Linked DNA regions of Homo sapiens: all the other regions are linked to region 3. The links are contacts of gene promoters, found by promoter capture Hi-C in blood cells and fetal thymus (Javierre and others, 2016). All regions are on one chromosome and are shown on one strand. Each heading gives the region's core, a stretch centred on a gene start or on the middle of the fragment in contact. The rest is flanking DNA. Distances are from core to core; before and after follow the strand shown.

Region 1 (5,110 bases), core at 2,086-4,585, 520 kb before region 3:
TGGGGATTCAGGACTTTACAAGCTTGTAATGCTGCTACTAGAGCCTCTGTTTTTCTCTTGTACTTCCTCTCCTTTTCTCGGGCCTCCTCCCAATCCCTTTTGTAAAAGACTGAAGTGGCTATTCTCAGGAGGCTTTCTAGGGTGCTATCTGGTTCTACTGCTTGCTTCTGTAGCTTTCTTCTAATATTGGGAGCTGCCTGTGTAATAAACTTGTCCTTCAGGATGAGCTGTCCCTCAACTAAATTGGGGTATAGAGAAGTGTGCTTTATTAGTGCCCCTCTCAGCCTTTCCATAAAAGCTGTGGGATTCTTGTCTGGTTTTTGGTCTATCATGGACAGTTTGGAGTAATTGAGAGGTTTAGCTGTGGTCTTTCGCAGGCCTTCTAATATACACCTTAAAAAGTGCTTCCTTTTCCATTCATCTGCTGAGTTATTGGGATCCCAGTTAGGGTTATTTACCGGAACTGCTTCCCTTCCTTGCAGGAGTGAAGTTTTCACCTCTTCCTCACCTTCCTTTTCTCCTCTTTTTTTCCTTGGTCTGCTGTATGGAGGCATGTTGCTCACCTCCATATTTTTCTGCTGCCTGCGGAACTGTCTGCTTTTCAGCTGTAGTGAGGGTTTAACTTAGCAGCAACATAACATCCCTCCACGTGAGATCAAACACCTGAGTTAAATTTCAGAAAATTTCTATATACCTATCAGGGTCATCAGAAAATTGACCTAAGTCTCCCTTTGTTTGCTTAACGTCCTGCAATGAGAAGGGAACTTGAACCCTTATGGCACCATTCCCATCAGGCATTTCCTGGAGGGGTAAGAGTGAAGAGGGGAGAGTAGGACATACTGGAGATGGTGGTGCTGATGGTACAACTGGAGTGGAACCGGAAGGGTTGGGACTTCAGTAGCTGTCTTAGATTGCTCCTCTGGAGCCCGCTTTAGCTCTGGGGAACTACTCCCTGTGGGTTTGCCTGCCATGGCTACTAAAAGAACTGGGTCGATTGTACAGAACTTGTAAAGGTCTGGGTTGTCTCGCAGAGCAAAGAAAGCCTGTACATAGGGGACCTCAGTCCATTTGCCCTCCTGTGTGCAGAAAAGTTCTAACTGTTGGATAATATTAAAATTAAGTCTCCCCAGGCCAGGTTTACGAAGAGGATAGGAAGGCCATGCCCTTGTGCAGTAGAATACTGCTTTTTCTTCAAAGTTTTAGGGTCGAAGGAGTCCCAGTGCTTTAAAATACACTCCAGGGGAGTGCATGTTGAAGACGATCTGTTACCCATCTAGAAAGAGAAGTGAGAACAAAAGCGTTCTCCTTCCTTTCGGTATGTGATCCACGTGTGTTCCTGTAGTTTTTTTCTAATTCGACTCGAGACGAAGACCCTGGTGTTCCCCCACTCATCAAAGCCATATCACTAGCAAACCCTGGAGAATAGAGAAAATCTAATTTCCAAAATCACCACATTATAACAGTTAAACGGCCAATTTTCCATAAAGAAACCACAAGATATACAAAGGAACAGAAAAACACGGCTGGGAGGAATGAAATAAATGAACAGAAACCATATCCAAGAAGCCCAGACATTGGACTTGATAAAGACATTAAAAACTGTCTTAAATATGTTCAAAGAGTTGAAGGAAAACACAGAAAAGGAACTAAAGGAAACTAGGAAAATTATATATGACCAAAATGAGAATGTCAACAAAGAGAAAGAAACTATATTAAGAAACCAAACAAATTCTGGAGCTAAAAACTAACACTTTAAGTATAAATGGACTAAACTCTCCAATCAAACTACAGAGACTGACAAAATGGATTTTAAAAAACAAACAAAAACACCATGATCCAACTATATGCTGCCCATAAGGAACTCACTTCAAGTCCAAAGACAAATGGTTAAAAGTGAAAGATGGGAAAAAATACTCCATGCAAATAGTAAATAAAAAAAGCACTGAGGTGGGTAGGCTAATATCAGACAAAACAGACCTTAAGTTAAAAAAATGGTTAACAGACAAAAAAGACATTACATATTGATAAAAGAGTTAATTCACCAAAAATATATTATCATAAATTTATATGCGTCAAATATGTACATTTGGTATATAAATATACAAGCCCCATGATATGTGAAGCAAACATTGAAAGAATTTAAGAAAGAAATACATAGTTCTACAAATAGTTGGAGATTTCAATAATCCATTTTCAGTAATGAATAGAACCAGACAGAAGATTAATAAAAAAACAGAGGACATGAACGACACTATAAACCAACTGGACCTAACAGATTATAAAGAGAGAGAGAGCACTCTATCCAGTAACAAAATACACATTTTTCTCAAGTACACATGGAACATTCTCAAGAATAGACTTATTATGTTATGCCACAAAACAAGTTTTAATAACTTTTAAAAGACCAAAATGACACAAAGTATCTTTTCCAATCACAATGGAATGAAACTACTAAACAATAATAGGGGAAAACTGGAAAATTACAAACGTGGAAATTAGACAATGAACTCTTAAAACTATGGGTCAAAGAAAAAATCATTGGGAAATTAGAAAATACTTTGAGACAAATGAAAATGAAAATACAATGTACCAAACCTAGTAGGATGCTGAAAAATCAGTGCAAAGGAGGAAATTTATAGCTATAAATGCTTACATTTTAAAAAGAAAAAAAGCTTTTAAAATCAATAAAAATAACCTAACTTAATACTATAAGGAACTAGAAAAAGAAAAGCAAATGAAACCCAAAGCTGACAGAAGGAAAGAATAAAGATTAAAGTGAAGATAAATAAAACACAGAATAGGAAAATAACAGAGAAAGCCAATGTGACCCAAAGTAGGTCTTCTGAAAAGATAAAATTGGCACATATTTGGTTAAGCTGACTAAGGGAAAAAGAGAGAAGACTCAAATTAGTAATTTCAGAAATAAAAGTGACGACATTCCTATCAATTCTACAAATAATTGTAATAGAATATTATGAACATCTGCACACCAGAAAAAAAGGGTAACTTACATAAAATGGACAAATTCCTAGAAGCATACAATCTGCCAAAAATGAACCATAAAGAAATGGAAAGTCAGAATACACCAATAACTGTAACAAGTAAGAAGACAGAAATGGTAATAATAAACCTCTCAAGAAAGAAAATCCCTGGGCCAGATGGCTCCACTGGTGAATTCTAACAAACATTTATGTATTTTTATTTGTTTGTTTTTTCCTTTTTTTGAGGCAGGGTCTCACTCTGTTGCCCAGGGTGAAGTGTAGGGGCACAGTCTCAGTTCACTGCAACCTCTGCTTCCTGGACTTCAAGCTATCCTCCAGCCTCAGCCTCCTGAGTAGCTTGTGTGAGCAACCACACCTGGTTAATTTTTTTTTTTAGGGATGGGGTTTTACCATGCTGCCCAGGCTGGTCTTGAACTCCTGAGCTCAACGTTATTTGTTTGCCTTGGCCTCCCAAAGTGCTGGGATTACAGATTGTGAGTAGGCAGTATGTCCGGCCTCTACCAAACGTTTAAAGAAGAATTAACACGAATCCTTTTCAAACTCTTTCAAAAAACTGAAGAGAAGGAAATATTTCCTAACTCATTCTATGAGTGCAGCACTGCCCTGATAGCAAAACTAAAAATATCACACAAAAATTACATATCAGAGTTTATGAAACATATGAATATAGACATAAAAATGCCCAATAAAATAACAGCAAGTAGAATATAGCACATATGAGAAGAAGTACACACCAGGATCAAGTGGGATTTATGCCAGGAATGCACAGTTGATTTAACATACAAAAATATTTTAATGTAATCTACCACATTAATAGAATAAAGGACAAAAACCACATCACCTCATTAGATACAGATAAAATGTTCAACAAAATTCAACACCCTCTCATAATAAAAAACAATCAACAAACAGGGAATGGAAAGAAACTTCCTCAGCATGGTGAAGGCCACATATGAAAATCCCACAGCTAACATCATACTCAATGATGAAAGACTGAAAGCTTTTCTCCTGAGATCAGGAACAAGACAAAGATGTCACCTTTTGTCACTTCTATTCAACTCATTATTGGAAGTTTTTGCCAGAGCAATTAGGTAAGAAAAAGAAATAAAAGGCATCCAAATTGGAAACAAAGACATAAAATTATCTATTCACAGGTGACATGATCCTATAGGTGGAAAACTAAAGATTACACACACACCAAAACAAAACAAAACAAAAAAATCCGTCAGAGCCCATAACCAAATTCAGCCAAGTTACAGGTTAGTCAATACTCAAAAATCAGTTGCATTTCTATATACTAACAGTGAATAATCCAAACAGAAACTTAAGAGCAGTTTCATTTATAAAAGCATCAAAACAAATAATACTGAAGAATAAATTTAACTGAGGCTAAAGACATGTACACTGAAAACCATAAAACATTGCTGAAATTATAGAAGACATAAATGAAAAGACATCCTATGTTCATGGACTGGAAAAAATATTTTTTTTAATGGCAATACTACTCAAAGTAATATACAGATTAAATGTAATCCCTATCAAAATCCCAATGGTGTTTTTTGCAGAAATAGAAAACCTCATCCTAAAATTCAAATGTAATCTCAGATCACAAATAGCCAAAACAATCTTGAAAAAGAACAAAGTTAGAGGACTCAAATTCACTGACTTCAAAAATCACTACAAAGCTACAGTAACCAAAATGGTGTACTGCTGGCATAAGGACAAGCACATACAGCTGGTGCTCAAACAACATAAGTTTCAACTGCATGAGTCCACTTATACCTCCTTCCACCTCTGCTACCCATGAAACAGCAAGACCAACTCCTCCTTTTCCTTCTACTCAGCCTACTCAATGTGAAGATGGTGAATATGAAGACCTTTATGATGATCCACTTCCATTTAATGAACAGTAAATATATTTTCTCTTCCTTATGATTTTAGTAATATTTTCTTTTTGCTGGCTAACATTATGTAAGAATACAGTACATATATTTACATATAACATACAAAATACGTGTTGTTAATCAACTGGTTTTGCTATCAGTAAGGCTTTCAGTCAACAGCAGGCTATTAGTAGTTAAGTTTTGGGGAAATTAAAAAAGTATGTA
Region 2 (4,684 bases), core at 1,463-3,962, 610 kb before region 3:
ATGTTCAGGACAGTTCATTGCTAAGATCGGAAATGAATAAGACAAATTTTCAGTTTATTTAAAAATTTCTGATACCATCTTTTTTTTTCTTTTCTTTTTTTTTTAAAGAGATGAGGTCTCACTCTGTCACCCAGGCTGGAGTGCAGTGGCACCTTCTCAGCTCACTGCAGCCTTGAACTCCTGGGCTCAAGCTATCCTCCAGCCTTAGCCTCTGGAGTGGCTAGTATTACAGGCATATGCCACCACACCTGGCTAATTTTTAAGCATTTTTTTGTAGAGATGGGGTCTCGCTCCACTGCCCAGGCTATTCTCAAATTCCTGGGCTCAAGCAATCCTCCTGTGTCAGCCTCCCAAAGTGTTGGGTCTACAGGCATGAGCCACCTTGCCTGGCCTGCTACCACTTTAAAAAAATATATTAAATCATCTTTATCTACATTTGCATCTATATCCACATTTACTTTGCTTTCACAAAAAAACAAAAACAAAAAACAAACAAAAAAACCCCACAAAGTATCCTGTGGCAAGTCATTGATATAGAAAGGAAAAATGAGTCAAAATATATTCCATTTCTGTTTGGGTACCCTTTTCTACTCTTCAAGCTTCTTTTATCCTATGTCCACATTTACACCAGCTTGGCCATCAAAAACTATTCTAATTGTGACAAAACATGTCCAAAGGACAAGATAAGTAGTGGCTTTTCTGATAATTTACCTGAGGTTCTATTGAACCTCCAACATTTCAGAGGCTTTGAAAAAGTGACAGCTGTATCTCTATATCATCTATTTAACTCTTAGCTAGGTATATAACAGAGAATAACCAATGAAATTTTTATTGTTAAGAAAATTCTAAATGCAAAGGCCAATCACTTTATGCTCTTTTCTATTTTGCTAACTGTAAAACAACAGAACAGGTACTCATCATCTACCACGTACTGATCTGTTGTTTTCCTTCTTCATAAGCCCTCACAGCACATTCATCTTACTCATGTACAAAGAAAATAGGAAAACATACTTTATAAAAAGGTATTTCCAAACCAAAGGAATCTGTGATGATCTGTTAACATGAAACATCTAATGCTCTCTAGGGTAAAAACAAAAATAACAAATAACAAAACCCTAAATAAGACATACATACAGCCCCACATACAACCAATCAAACATAAAAACTTTTAGAAATGTAACTATATAAACATTAAGAATAAATGCTATTTTATAAAACCACCTAGTAGTCTATGATAATCAGTAATTACTATTTTATAATAATTGGTATATGTTAAATCATTTACCTTTTCTGAGTGATTAAGCATGTCTTGAGCCTCTTTTCTTTCTCCTTCCACTTTTTCGAGATTATGTTTGAGATGCTTCACCTCCTCTTGTAAAGATGTAATTCGAGCTATCAAGTGAGAAAAAAGTTCAAGTCTGTAGTCATTGAAAGAAGTCTTTTTGTTCAGTATTGACAATTTAGTTTTTAAAAAATGTTTTTTTAATGTATTAAGTTTCCTGATCCGATAAGATTTTATTAAGTGTTTTCACAATAAACACAAGATATGGAATAAAAATATTAATGCTAATTGGATATAATCTAGTGCATATTCCTTATTTACAAGTAGCCAAAGAGATGAAGCCTCAGCTTGAGCTAGAAATCAGATCCAAGTCCTTACTGAGTGCTTTTTTTTTGAGACGGAGTCTCGCTCTGTTGCCCAGGCTGGAGTGCAGTGGCACAAGCTCAGCTCACTGCAAGCTCTGCCTCCAGGTTCACGCCATTCTCCTGCCTCAGCCTCCCGAGTAGCTGGGACTACAGGCGCCTGCCACCAGGCCCGGCTAATTTTTGTATATTTAGTAGAGACGGGGTTTCACCTTGTTAGCCAGGATGGTCTCAATCCCCTGACCTCGTGATCCGCCTGCTTCAGCCTCCAAAAGTGCTGGGATTACAGGTGTGAGCCACCGCGCCCGGCACTGAGTGCTCTTTCTAACCACATTAAAGGTGAGAGCCTTTAGTTAATTAAGGCAAGTATTAAGTGGTCCATATGTGCCAGACACTGCAAAGTGTTTAATAAAATTACTTTTAAACTTAATGGAGCCAAACTCTATTTTCACAGAAAACTAAGTTTTTAAGGAATTCAAGTACTCTAACAAAGCTTAGTTTTAACTTACCTGATGTTCGTGCCTTGCAATGGTAGTAACTCATATATTTAGTAATTGTCTACTCATTAAAACATGCTTTAACCTTACAGGTATTTAAGGCATAAATATTTAATAAACACACAAATTTAACACATGTAGTATCTGACTTAATATATTGTCTAGCTTAAAATAAAAATTATATTTTCATATTTTGTAATTCAAAGTGGCCTAGGATTTGACAAGGAAAATAGATGAAGTACCAGATGGGCCAGTAAAACTTCTGTACTACTCAAAGTACAGTTTGACTTACTGTACTTGTCCCACTCTCAAATGTACTCTAGTCACCTCCCATATTTCAGGGTTTCTAAAGTAGTTATTTAATAAACAAATAAATATTAAATCTTTGGCACCTGATAATGCATATCTGCTAGATTAGTTCTAGATCTAGAAAACAATGAAATAAATAATTTTATTTACACACTCAAGATATTTTCATGTTGCAGTAAGTTCATGTAGGAGAAAGAAACAGCTGCCGCTTTCTTTCAAATAATTGACCAAAAATACAGAGTATATGTGTGTTTGTGTGGACAGAGATAAAGCAAATGTGCTAAGATGTTTAAATGTTGAAGTGCTATTTAGAAATTATAATTTAAAAAATAAATGATATAATTATCTTTAAAATAGGCCAGGTGTAGTGGTTCATGCCTGTAATCTCAGCACTTTGGGAGGCTGAGGCAGGCAGATTGCCTGAGCTCAGGAGTTTGAGATCAGCTTAGCCAACATGGTGAAACCCTGTCTCAAATACAAAAATCAGCTGGGTGTGGTGACACAAGTCTATAGTCCCAGCTACTTGGGAGACTGAGGTGGGAGGATCGCCTGAGCCCAGGAGTTCTAGGAGAAAATCTGTTTTAAAAATCATTTTAAAAAATCTGTACAAAGATAGTAATTCAGATTAATCTTTGAATTTTTCATGTAGAAGCAGCTTACTGCAAACCAACTCCTAAGGAGACAAGATAATAAACTATATGGGTTGAATCCACGCAAGATTCCTAGCAACCACATGAAAGAGACAAATTAAGTATAGTTTATTTTCCTCATTTACTCTGTCTGAAAAGAAATGTCGGAAATAAACTAGAACTTACCTGTGCAATACACGAAAGCAAAGAAGCTTTATATACAGAAAATATAAAAACATAATGGGAGGAATAAGGGCCCAAACACTAGGTATCATAATCTAAGTTGATTAAAACAAAATTTCTAAAAGCTAATAGAAGATATTATCTTCATAATCTAGTCAAAGACTTTTTCGATAGGCCACACTAAAAACCACACTAACAATAAAGAAAAAACTAGATACACTGGACTACATCAAATACAAGAAATTAAGACCTTTTGCTTATCCAAAAGCAGCACTGAAGAGTGAAAATGTTCCCACCATGCAGTAGACTGACTATAGTTAACAATAACATACTGCATATTTCAAAATAGCTAGAAGAGATGATTTTGAATGTTCTCACCATAGAGAAATGACAAATGTTTGAGGAGATGTACATACTAATTACCCTAATTTGATCATTACACATTGCATATACGTACCAAAACATCCCATAAGTATGTACAATTATTATGTGTCAATTAAAAATAAAACAGGGGGAGGCAGAGAAGGGCCAAATAGAAGCCTCCACCGATTGTCCTCTCTGCAGGAACACCAATTTGAACAACCATTCGCACAGAAAAGCACCTTCATAAGAACCAACAATCAGCTTAGTGATATATATCAGCTTGGCCATGGTGGGGTACAGCACCAAGCAGGCTCTTGGGGGTCCCCAATTCCAGGTCCTGGTTCTTGGATGGCATTTCTGGACCTGCTCTGGGCCAGAGAGGAGCCCACTGCCCTGAAGGGAGAGTCCCAAGCCTGGCAGCATTGAGACCCAGTGCTGTGCTGGCTTCAGGTCTGACCCAGCACAGTTCCAGTGGTGGTGGCTACAAGGGTGATTGTGTAACCCCTCCCCACCCTCTCCCTGGCAGCTCAGCGCAGAGAGACTCCATTTGTTTGGGAGAAAGGGAAGAGAACAGAGCCTCTGCATTATAATACAGATAATTCTTCCACATCTTACCCAAAACCACCAACATGGTTCCTCTAAGAGTCTGCAAGAGCCACAGTATTACTGGGCTTCGGATGCCTCCTAATACAGATATGGCTACAGTGACCAAAAACTTAAATCACAACACCTAAGTCCCTTCGAATACCTGGAAAGCCTTTCCAAAAATGACAGGTACAAACAAGCCCAGACTGCAATGACTACAATAAATACCTAACTCTTCAATGCCCAGACACCAACAAACAACCACAAACATCACGACCATTCAGGAAAACATAATCTCACCAAAGAAACTAAATAAGGCCCCAGGGACCAATCCTGGAGAGACAGAGATATAAGACCTTTCAGACAGAGAATTTAAAATAGCTGTTTTGAGGAAAATCAAAGAAATTCAAGATAAAACAAAGAAGGAATTCAGAATCCCATCAGATAAATTTAACAAAAAGACTGAAATAAGTA
Region 3 (5,272 bases), core at 2,124-4,623:
AACTTATTTTGGAATATAGTTTTTCATTAAAATGTTATTTATTAAATATATTAAGCTGGGTATGCACACCTGTAGTCCCACCTATTTGGGAGGCTGAGGCAAGAGGATCACTTCAGCCCAAGAGCTCAAGGCCAGCCTGGGCAACACAGTGAGCCACTGTTACTAAAAAAAAAAAAAAATTTAATTAAAATTAAAATGTTATTTATATTAAGCTGTAGTTTAATTATTTCAAATGAATTAATATATATGAAATTAATTCCTAATACAGTAACTATCAATAGATATAAACCTATATAAACAAAAGCTACTTGGAGTCCTACATAATTTTTAAGAGTGTAAGGGGATCCTAAGACCAAAAAGTTTGAGAACCACTACATTAAAGTAATACTTAATACCACCTTTTAATTTACCCTCTGAGTTTTTGTGTGAATCTTACACGTGCTGCCATAAATGTCTAAAGGAAGCTGAACAGAGCAGAGGATATAAATCTTCCTTTAAGCATTGTAATGCAATCAAGCATAAGATGTATATGCCCCTTCCCCTCAGGAAAAGACAAGACATGATGGCTGGGTTAACAGAATGCTCTTATTTGCCAAAAGTAACTACAGTATTATAATACAGCTATAATACAGAACTTATACAGGAAAAACAGAACCAAAGGATTTTCATTGAATGATCCACAGAAAAATATGAAAGTCAGGGTTACAAAAGGGGTAATATAGTCCTTAATTATCTACAGTAACAATTTTACTGGAGTTGGTTTCTAGTACCTAAATTTTAATCACCTTCAATAGAAGGTATTCCAAGAACTCTATGTGGTACAAAAATCTGCCAATAAAAGTCATGAAAAAATATTTAACTATTACAAAAAAATCCATTATTCGAACTGTGCAGCGCTGGTCACGTTCATTAACAGAATAAATACAATCAGCTCTGCATAATAAATTACCAAGCTAAAAAGGACTATCTGGCAAAAGAAGTTAATGGCATTCATTAATTAGGGTACTTTTTTAGTTATTCTGTGAAGCATAATTTATCAATTTAAATGCCAGCACCTTGTATGGGACGGACATTAAAAAAATTACTTGGCCGGGCATGGTGGCTCACGCCTGTAATCCCAGCACTTTGGGAGGCCGAGGCAGGCGGATCACCTGAGGTCAGGAGTTCAAGACCAGCCTGGCCAACACGGTGAAACCCTATCTCTACTAAAAATACAAAAAAATTAGCCGGGCATGGTGGCACTTGTCTGTAATCCCAGCTACTCGGGAGGCCGAGGCAGGAGAATCACTTGAACCCAGGAGGCGGAGATTGCAGTGAGCCGAGATCTCGCCACTGCCCTCCAGCCCGGACGACAGAGTGAGACTCCATCTCAAAAAAAAAAAACAAACAATTACTTGTTCACTACAGGATTATAATATTGATTGAGAAAGGTGAGACAATAGCATATTTTCCTCAGTTAGCAATGATAAAGGAGTTCTAGCTCGTAAGCCAGGACAAATTTTGGAATTGTGCTTCCAAAGTCACATATCTGACCCAACAGTGATACTCTGCATTCTGCCTAAAAGGGAAAAAGTGGCTCTATTACAGTCCTAGTTTCCTCATTTCCTCACATGCTCTAGGCCTGAATTTGCGACTTCCAAATTAAGCACGTTTTAAAGCACTTCTCATCCTACTCCCATGTCTAATTCCATTGATTAGATTTTTTGCTTTTCAAAAAAAAAAAAAAATTCACCAGGCACAGTGGCTCAGGCCTGTAATCCCAGCACTTTTGGAGGCCCAGGTGATCACTTGATCCCAGGAGTTCGAGACCAGCCTGGGCAACATGGCGAAACGCCGTCTCAACAACAAATAGAAAACTTAGCCTAACATGGTAGCGGACGCCTGTAGTCTCAGCCACTCAGGGAGGCGGAGGTGGGAGGATTGCTTGGGGCCGGGGAGGGAGGTCAAGGCTGCAGTGAACAGTGATTACACCACTGCAATCCAGTCTGGGCGACAGAGCGAGACCCCGTCTCAAAATAAAATAATAACTTAAAACTTTATTCGTGTTGGTGTCCTGTGTAAAGCAGAAACTAAGTACTTGACCAGAAGACAAAGTGAATATAGCATAGTTCACTGCAACCTGGATGTTTTCAACTGAAATCTATGTTTTATCCACTTTTTTAAAAAAGCCAATGCTGGTGGGGGGACTAACCACACCTTATGCCACCAAGTAGCGCTTTTGTTTCCTGCGAAGCTTATTTATTGAGATATCGTTTTGTAATACTATCTAGATACTGTGTGCTGCGATTCCTGTTTAAAGGAATCTCATTGCAGCTAAGACTACAGAAAACATGGTTCATAGTACTTCTCAAATCGCAAAGCTTGAGCTCCTTCCTCCTCCTCTTCCTCCCTCCCCTGGTCCCCGCTGCGTCCCCATCGCCCCGGAAAATAAAGCACACGCCGGATTTTCGGACGCATCATTGAGAGGCGGAGGGAGAGGAGGTAGTCTTCGAATTGTTGGACTTGCTATCCCATTCTGCCTGTGCAAAATAAACCCCCATAGTAAAATAATCTTAACCCGTGATAAAAATCGAGGACCCAATTCTCTTTGGTTCGCCTCTCTCCATCGCTATAAACTTCACTGCGGCCCTCAATGCACTCATTTCTACTCCAGAGCCGCCCTACCTGTGCCGAGACCCCCATTTGCAGCATGAGTTACTCTATGACCTTGGGCCCGCTCCCCTCCCAAACTGAAGGCTGTAAAACCAAGACCCCACATCGCGCCCCGCAAACTGCAGAGGCCTCCAGGCTCAGGCCGGGTCAGCGGGTTGCGCCAGGAGGCGGCGAGGGACTGGCTCCGGTGAAGCGCCGGGAAGAGAAAACGCAGGGGGCGGAGACGGGGCCCGGAGCTACCTGCGGGACCAGCACTGGCGCTGCCCCGGTGCTAGCAATGGCTGCGCGCCACCTCGGGGCTCCCGGAGCCCTCGCGGCAGTGCTGGGAACTCCGGCCCTGCCCCGTCGGCGGTCACGACCCCTTATGAACTTCGACCGCCCAGCAAACAGCGGCAGGTGGTGCGCGGACACGCGAGCACGTTAGCTGCCTACCTCAAGCGACGGCGTCTTGGAGCCTAGAGCCTCCCACCTCCCTCCCAGGGGCGCGAAGAGCTGGGACCGGAGCAGTAGGAAGGGGCGTGCGAGGCAACACGCCACCGAGGGTGGAACAGGAAGAGGGAGAACTGTCCGCTCCCTGAAGGGGCTGGCAAAAGAGAGGTGAAGACACAGGCGGCGGGGACCGTCAGGGACGCTCGCGTACCTTCCTTTTGCCTGGCGGAGGGTCAGACTAGCGCCAGCGGATCGCCTCACATCCGGGTATCAGGAGACACTCAGCTGCTTCTGCTGCGGCCGCCGCCTCCCCCGCGGCGCAAACACCAAACTTCCGGCGACGACGGCGACGCCTCGCTCGTCAGATGGGAGTTACCTGTGACCGTCTTGGGTGCGCTTGCGCAACGCTCCTCTTCAGCCCTAACCGGCTCAGCTGACGTGCCCAGAAGACGAAGATGGCCGCCACGCTCACTGCGTGTCACGCAGTTTTTCACCCCGGCCCGGACGGCTGGGCGTCGAGGAAAGGCGAGCTAGTGTCCATCCTCAGCGCAGGCGCGGTGGGAGGCCTAGCGCGCGCGCCTCCGCGGGTGGTCGCCTGGCAGGGAAGTGGCGGCGCCCCCTAGCGGCGGCCGCTTGTCGTTCCTGGGGTCATCGCTTTGAGCTGAAAACCACCCAGGCCCCCAGCGGTTGTGGTTTACCTTGGAAATTTGTCGCAACTGGTTGCCATGTAGGTTTTGGCTGCTTCTGTCTGCGATGTATAATCCAAGTGCCTTTGGTCTTCCATATGAGCCAATGTAAAGAAGGAGGGTGGGGCCGGGCGCGGTGGTTCACGCCTGTAATCCCAGCACTTTGGGAAGCAGAGGCGGGTGGATCATTTGAGGTTAGGAGTTCGAGACCAGCCTGGCCAACATGGCCAACATGGTGAAACCCCGTCTCTACTAGAAATACAAAAATTAGCCGGGTGGTAGTGGCGTGCGACTGTAATCCCAGCTACTCGAGAGGCTGAGGCGGGAGAATCCCTTGAGCCTGGGAGGCGGAGGTTGTGGTGAGCTGAGACTGGGCCACTGCACTCTAGTCTGGACGAGTGAGACCCTGTCTCAAATAAAAAAAAAAGGAGGGTGCAGTCCCTACACTGCCCTCCAGCACCTCCAAAAAATGCAGGGCTTCGCCCTCTCCTTGCACACTTTCTTCCTGTGTATCAGAGTGCAAGAATCATCAGAAATTGTAAAATATTCTGCTAGACTTAGTCAGACTGAGTGTTCAGACAAAGCTTTGGCTCGCTCTTGGACGCCTCTAGAGATAGAATCCAAGATTCTATCACTAGGATTCATGGTTCCCACACTTCTTTCTTTTGTGACAGGAAGGATCTTGCTGTGTAGCCCTGGCTGGTGTGCAGTGGCACAGTAACGGCTCACTGCAGCCTCGACTTGGGCTCAAGCGATCCCACCTGCCTCAGCCTCCCTGAGAACTGCATGTATGAAGCCCACGACACCATGCCAGGCTAATTTTTTTTTTTTTTTTTGAGATGGAGTCTCACTCTTGTCACCCAGGCTAGAGTGCAATGGCACGATCTCGGCTCACTGCAACCTCCGCCTCCCAGGTTCAAGGAATTCTCCTGCCTCAGCCTCCTGAGTAGCTGGGACTACAGGTGCCTGCCACCATGCCCGGCTAATTTTTTATTTTTAGTAGAGACGGGGTTTCACCATCTTGGCCAGGCTGGTCTCGAACTTCTGACCTTGTGATCCCACCTGCCTCGGCCTCCCAAAGTGCTGGGATTACAGGCGTAAGCCACCGCGCCCGGCCGCCAGGCTAATTTTTTTATATTTTGTAGGGATAAGGTCTCACTGAGACCAGCCCAGGCTGATCTCGAACTCCTGGCCTCAAGTGATCCTCTCTTCTCTCCTTGGCTTCCCAAAGCGCTGGGACTACAGGCCTAAGCCACTGCTCCGGCTACTAGACTGCTTTTGAACATATGTTCTGTGCTACCCTTTGCTTATTTGCGGAACTGTGAGGCTAGTTCGGTACTTCTGCATTTCAGAATGGGAAGAGGTGATCATAAATGGGTTTTCCCCTTCCTGCCCTCCTTCTTTGAAGCCAAGTACAACCAAAATGTGCTCTAAGTTTGTCAAACCTGATGTTTTTCTGACAATTCATCTTCCACGAATAGTGAGCTGCCTGTCAGTTTGCGCAG
Region 4 (5,083 bases), core at 227-2,726, 550 kb before region 3:
TTCCACAAAACTGGTCCCTGGTGCCAAAAAGTTTGGGGACTGCTGCTCTAAAGAAAAATAATAAGTACATAAATAAATATGTAACTTAATTTCACATTGTGATACATATTCTAAAGAAAATAAGACCAAGCTTTCCCAAGTCTGTAAGGGGAGACTATATACACAGGCTAATTCTTCAGTCACTTCAAACTCTGCACTGATTCCTCAAATAAACAAGAGTCAAGGAAAACAACTCAAAATTGGTTATTTTTTAATTGACTATTGATGCCACTCCCAATACCCCCAATTCTTTGAGCAGCTATTCTTGCCCAAAGGCTAACAGTCTTAGGCAAGTTTTTCTCTCTGTACACATTTGTTTGGCTGCTGCAATCACACACCATCAGTGAACAGCTTTCTCTGCTAGGCTAGTGAATAAACCACTCATACACTTACATAACATTGCAGCCTCTTTTTTTTTTTTGGTCAAGCCTGCATGAACATTTTTCTTTATGAAGAAATTTTACTGGGATGAGATACTCTGTTTTAAATTTTCTATTTTTTCTCACTGTTGCTGTCCTATGAGTCAGGAAGATCATAGTGAGTGCTTAGTCTGGGAATGTCCAAAGTACACTGTATTCCTTTAGCACAGCTATACTGTCATTGCATAATTTAAAAAAATGCTTTGCCACCTAACTTGATAAAAATAATCCATTCTCCATTATGCTTCAAAAAGGACAACATTTGGGCTGGGCATGATGGCTCACACCTGTAATCCCAGTGCTTTGGGACACAGAGGCAGGAGGATTGCTCAAGGCCAGGAGTTTGAAACCAGCCTGGACAACATACCAAGACTTGTCTTTACAAAAAATTTAAAAATTAGCCAGGCCCATGGTGGCATGCACTTGTAGTCCCAGCTACTTGGGAGGCTGAGGCAGAAGGACTGCTTGAGCCTAGGAGTTCAAGGCTGCAGTGAGCTATGAATGTGCCACTGCACTCCTGCCTGTGTGACAGTCTTTTAGGGGAGGGAAAAAAAAAGACAACATTTCAAGTATACTCTTCTCTTCTTGCTTTGACACATGCGTATGTACTGGTAATAGAAAACAAATAAAATGTTGTGATATGGTGATACATATAGCACTCAAAACTGTCAAGCTGTAACAGCATCACTGTGATTTCTACTGTGCTGAGCAGCAGTGTGAAGCAAGGAGAGCATCACATATGGTCGCTGTTGTAGCTACTCAGCTTAGGTGTTGTAGAACAAAAGCAGCTATACACAATACATTTTTTAAAGTGTAGCAACGTCCCAAGAAAACTTTATTTATGGACACTGAAATCTGAATTTCCTATTATTTCACATTCATGATATTGTTTCATTATTTCACCATCATGATCATGATGGGCTTTAAAAACCATCTACATATCAACTTCCAAATTTTTATCTCTAGTCTAGTCTCTCTTAAACTTCAAACTTATATATGCAATTGTATATTCTTTAATTATATATTCTTTTGACTTTTTTTTCAATCATGAAAAAATACAAAAAACATGCTTAGTTCATGAGCCACAGTGGTGGGTGAGATTTGGCCTGTGGGCTGTAGTTCACCAACTCCTGCTCTAATAAAACCCAGTGGCCTTCTGAGGGCACTGCTTCCCCACAGCTCTCAAGTGGGGACCTTTACTTTTCCACATGCCTTAGACAACCGACCCTGAAAGTGGGAGATCCCCCACATCCCCACCCCTAAATCTGCTAGCTTTGATTTTCATTATATTAGGTTGTATTTCCCACCTCTCATTGTTGCTGTAATCTACTGACTCTCAGAGGTCACCACGTCTCATCGCTAGACAGTTTTACTTCCTGATTTACTGAACTTCTCTCCAATATTCTCCTGTTTTAATTCTTAATAACTTTAATATACCCACAGATAATACTTACAGTACCTTGGCCTCTCAACACCTATACTTCTCTCCTTCAATGATCTTGTCCTCTACCTTACCTTGGTCACTCATTTCCATGGTCATATACTAGACCTTGTCATTACTCATAATTATAATCTTCCAACAATTTCAATTAGAAAACTTACACTCTCTAAGCACTCTCTTATAGCTTTCCTGCTTAGTTCCTCTAGCATCTTAACTCCAACAACCCCAACCCCACCAGGACCTCCAATCCATTGATTCTACTACACTCATACTTTCCCTCGTTGCACTGATAGCCTCTTTTTCCTACCTAGCCAGCTTAAATTACATGGTCAATTATTATAATCACTCCCTTGCATATACCTTTAATGTCATGAGCTCTCTTCTGCCTCACTTTACTTAGTTTGGCAAAACGACAATCCTATTATAGTTAAATCCAACTCTCCAACTACTCTATGTCAGCACCCATGCAGTTGAATATGTCTCAATAAATACATAAAATCACAATGACTGATCCTATTTTAAAATTCATAATCACAAACATCAAGCTGGCCCTTAGTTCTACTTGGCAATCCTAAATTTCTAGTCACTCTCCCACTCTCCTAGAGACGTATTTCAAGTTTTCTTCTTTCTTCACACACACCTCCCACAGCTCTCCCACTGATCCTCGTTCACAGCTAATGATCTTGTTTGGCTACTACCCTGAAACGAACGAAACAATCAGAAGAAAACTACCACTGACTTACCACCACTTACACACTTAACTATCAGCATGTACAAGCATATATTTTGTCTTTTCATATTTTACTATGGGAGACTACTTCTATCTTAACTTAAACCCTCCACTCATGCACTAGATGTCATCCTTTTTCATTACTGTAGTTCAAGGACATTGCTCAAGCAATTCTCCCCTTTCTCCTCTATTACTAAGCTTTACCCCTCCTAACCGGATCCCACCATGCTGTTTTCTCTCCCATCTTAGGGAAACAAAAAAAAACTCTTGATCTCATTTCTCTCAGCAGCTACTGTCCCATTACTCAACTCCCCACTGCAGCAAAATTTCTCAAAAGTTGTCTATAATTTCTGTGACTAAATCTTTCCTACTATTTGCTCTAAAATCCACTTCAGGTCGGCTCTTACCTTTCTTTCAAAACTACTTGTCAAAGTCACAAATGAGCATCATGTTGCTAAATCCAATGACCAATTCTCAGCCCTCATCTTGATATATCAGTGGCTTTAACACTTCAATCACTCTCTCCTGATACACTTTCTTTACTTGACTTTCAGGACACAACATTCTTCCAACAATACTGAAGATTTTACTTTTCAACCTTAGTAGTTTTCAGTTGCCTTGGCTGGTTCCTCCCCTTCTCTCAGATTTCTTAACACTGGAGCATTCCAAGGCTCAGCCCTCAATGGTGACTTCTTCTCTATCTACACTCACTTCTCTGGTGGGCTTTAAAAACCATCTACATATCAACTTCCAAATTTTTATCTCTAGTCTACATGTCTCTCTTAAACTTCAAACTTATCTATTCAATTACTTTCAAAATATATCCTCTTTTGAAAAACATCTCAAATTTAATGTGCCAAAAACTGAAGAAATATTCTCACCCAAAACTTATACCTATGTGTCCCACACTTTGGCCGATGGCTCAATTTTGCTCAGGACAAAAACCTAGGGGGCATTCTTGACTCCTTTTTTTCTTACACTCCACATCCTATCTTTCAGGAAAATATGTTGGCTCTCTCTTTGAAATATATCTGTAATCTGATAGCTTCTCACCCTCTACATTGCTACCATGCTAGACCAAGTCACCATCATCTCTTCCTTGGATTACTGTGATAGACTCTTAACTGATTGCCCTGTGTCTATTCTCAACATAGGGTGATGTTCTTAAAACACAAGTCAGATCATGTCACTTCTCTGCTCAAAAGTCTCTAATGTCTTGCCATCTCACCCAGAGCAAAAGCCCAAGATTTTACAATGGCCTACAAGACTCTACATGACCTAGCCTCCCCATTTCCTTACCTCTATGATATCATCCTACAATTCTCCCCCTTGCCTAATCCTCTCCAGCCACACTGGCTTCCTTGATGTTCTTCAAACAGGCCAGGTACACTCTCCTCCCTTCAGGCCTTTGCACTAGCTGCTCCTCTGTATGCCACTCTCTTCCCTCAGACATCCACATGGCTAACTCCCTCAACTACTTCAACTCTTTTTTCAAATGTCACCTTTTAACAAGGCCTACCCTGGCCACCTTACCTAAAACAGCAAACTTCTCAGAACTTCCGATCCTTCTTAAACTGTTGTATCTTTTCCTATGGCAGATTTTGACCTCTTTGTTATTCACAAAATTAGTTTTATGCAAAATAATATTTGCAAAATCACAAATCTGGTAAGTCTTCCTTCATTCTAAAACCTCCAAATAGGATGTTGTGACCATCTAGACTCTTTTAGCAATTTCTGATTGTCAACTATATTGAGTCAGGTGATGCTGGCAGAAAGCTAAGATTCAGAGAAGTGAAATACTACTATGCAACATATTCAGCAAGAAATAAAATGAGCAAATTGAGTCATAAATAGGAACCACAGTCTTGACAACCACTAACTAGCTAATCATTAGAGCTAGTCGTTTAGAGTTAATCTTTCTCCAAATGATCACAAGTTAGCAAAAGGGCCAGTGCAAAAAGGCTAACTTACAGCTTCTGGGTTACCAAAAATTCAAAAGCATTTCAATCATATATAAACTCTTCAATCTAATTTTCAAGAAAGCAAATGGATGATTTTTCCTAATACTGTTTTAAAAATTGGCCAGGCGCTGTGACTCACGCCTATAATCCCAGCACTTCAGGAGGCCAAGGCAGGCGGATTGCTTGAGGTCAGGAGTTCAAGACCAGCCTGGCCAACATGGCAAAACCCCGTCTCTACTAAAAACACAAAAATTAGCCGGCACGGTGGTGGGCGCCTGTAATCCCAGCTAATCAGGAGGCTGAGGCATAAGAATCACTTGAACTCAAGAGGTGGAGGTTGCAGTAAGCCGAGTTTGGGCCACTGCACTCCAGCCTGGGTGACTGACCGAGACTCTGTATCAAGAAAAAAATTAAATTAAATTAAAAATAAATAAAAATCAACTTTATACCCAGTAAATTTTACTTCTAGGAATTTATCCTAAGGAAATGAGAT

The links. The method cuts DNA at HindIII sites, captures the fragments that hold promoters and counts their contacts. A CHiCAGO score of 5 or more calls a contact.
Region 1: a fragment that was not itself captured here is called in contact with the fragment with the promoter of ESCO1 in region 3 in 1 of 17 cell types (activated CD4 T cells); the score reaches 5.4 in activated CD4 T cells.
Region 2: a contact is called between a fragment that was not itself captured here and the fragment with the promoter of ESCO1 in region 3, in 1 of 17 cell types (non-activated CD4 T cells). The highest score is 5.1, in non-activated CD4 T cells.
Region 4: a fragment that was not itself captured here is called in contact with the fragment with the promoter of ESCO1 in region 3 in 1 of 17 cell types (M2 macrophages); the score reaches 5.7 in M2 macrophages.

The regions. Positions count from the first base shown.
Region 1 is chr18:21,078,746-21,083,855 of GRCh38, forward strand. The region is part of intron 1 of ROCK1 (Rho associated coiled-coil containing protein kinase 1); the gene reads right to left. Among named protein-coding and RNA genes, the nearest start is that of ROCK1, 31 kb to the right of the region's middle. The HindIII fragment of the contact is 1,330 bases long and covers 2,671-4,000 here.
Region 2 is chr18:20,991,546-20,996,229 of GRCh38, forward strand. It overlaps ROCK1 (Rho associated coiled-coil containing protein kinase 1), which reads right to left. Exons shown (of 33, transcript NM_005406.3): 17 at 1,286-1,392. Among named protein-coding and RNA genes, the nearest start is that of ROCK1, 120 kb to the right of the region's middle. The HindIII fragment of the contact is 1,154 bases long and covers 2,136-3,289 here.
Region 3 is chr18:21,597,331-21,602,602 of GRCh38, forward strand. It overlaps ESCO1 (establishment of sister chromatid cohesion N-acetyltransferase 1), which reads right to left and starts at 3,374. Exons shown (of 12, transcript NM_052911.3): 1 at 3,293-3,374. RefSeq lists enhancers at 1,718-2,012, 3,080-3,599, 4,924-5,003. The HindIII fragment of the contact is 1,991 bases long and covers 2,359-4,349 here.
Region 4 is chr18:21,052,831-21,057,913 of GRCh38, forward strand. The region is part of intron 2 of ROCK1 (Rho associated coiled-coil containing protein kinase 1); the gene reads right to left. Among named protein-coding and RNA genes, the nearest start is that of ROCK1, 56 kb to the right of the region's middle. The HindIII fragment of the contact is 2,697 bases long and covers 129-2,825 here.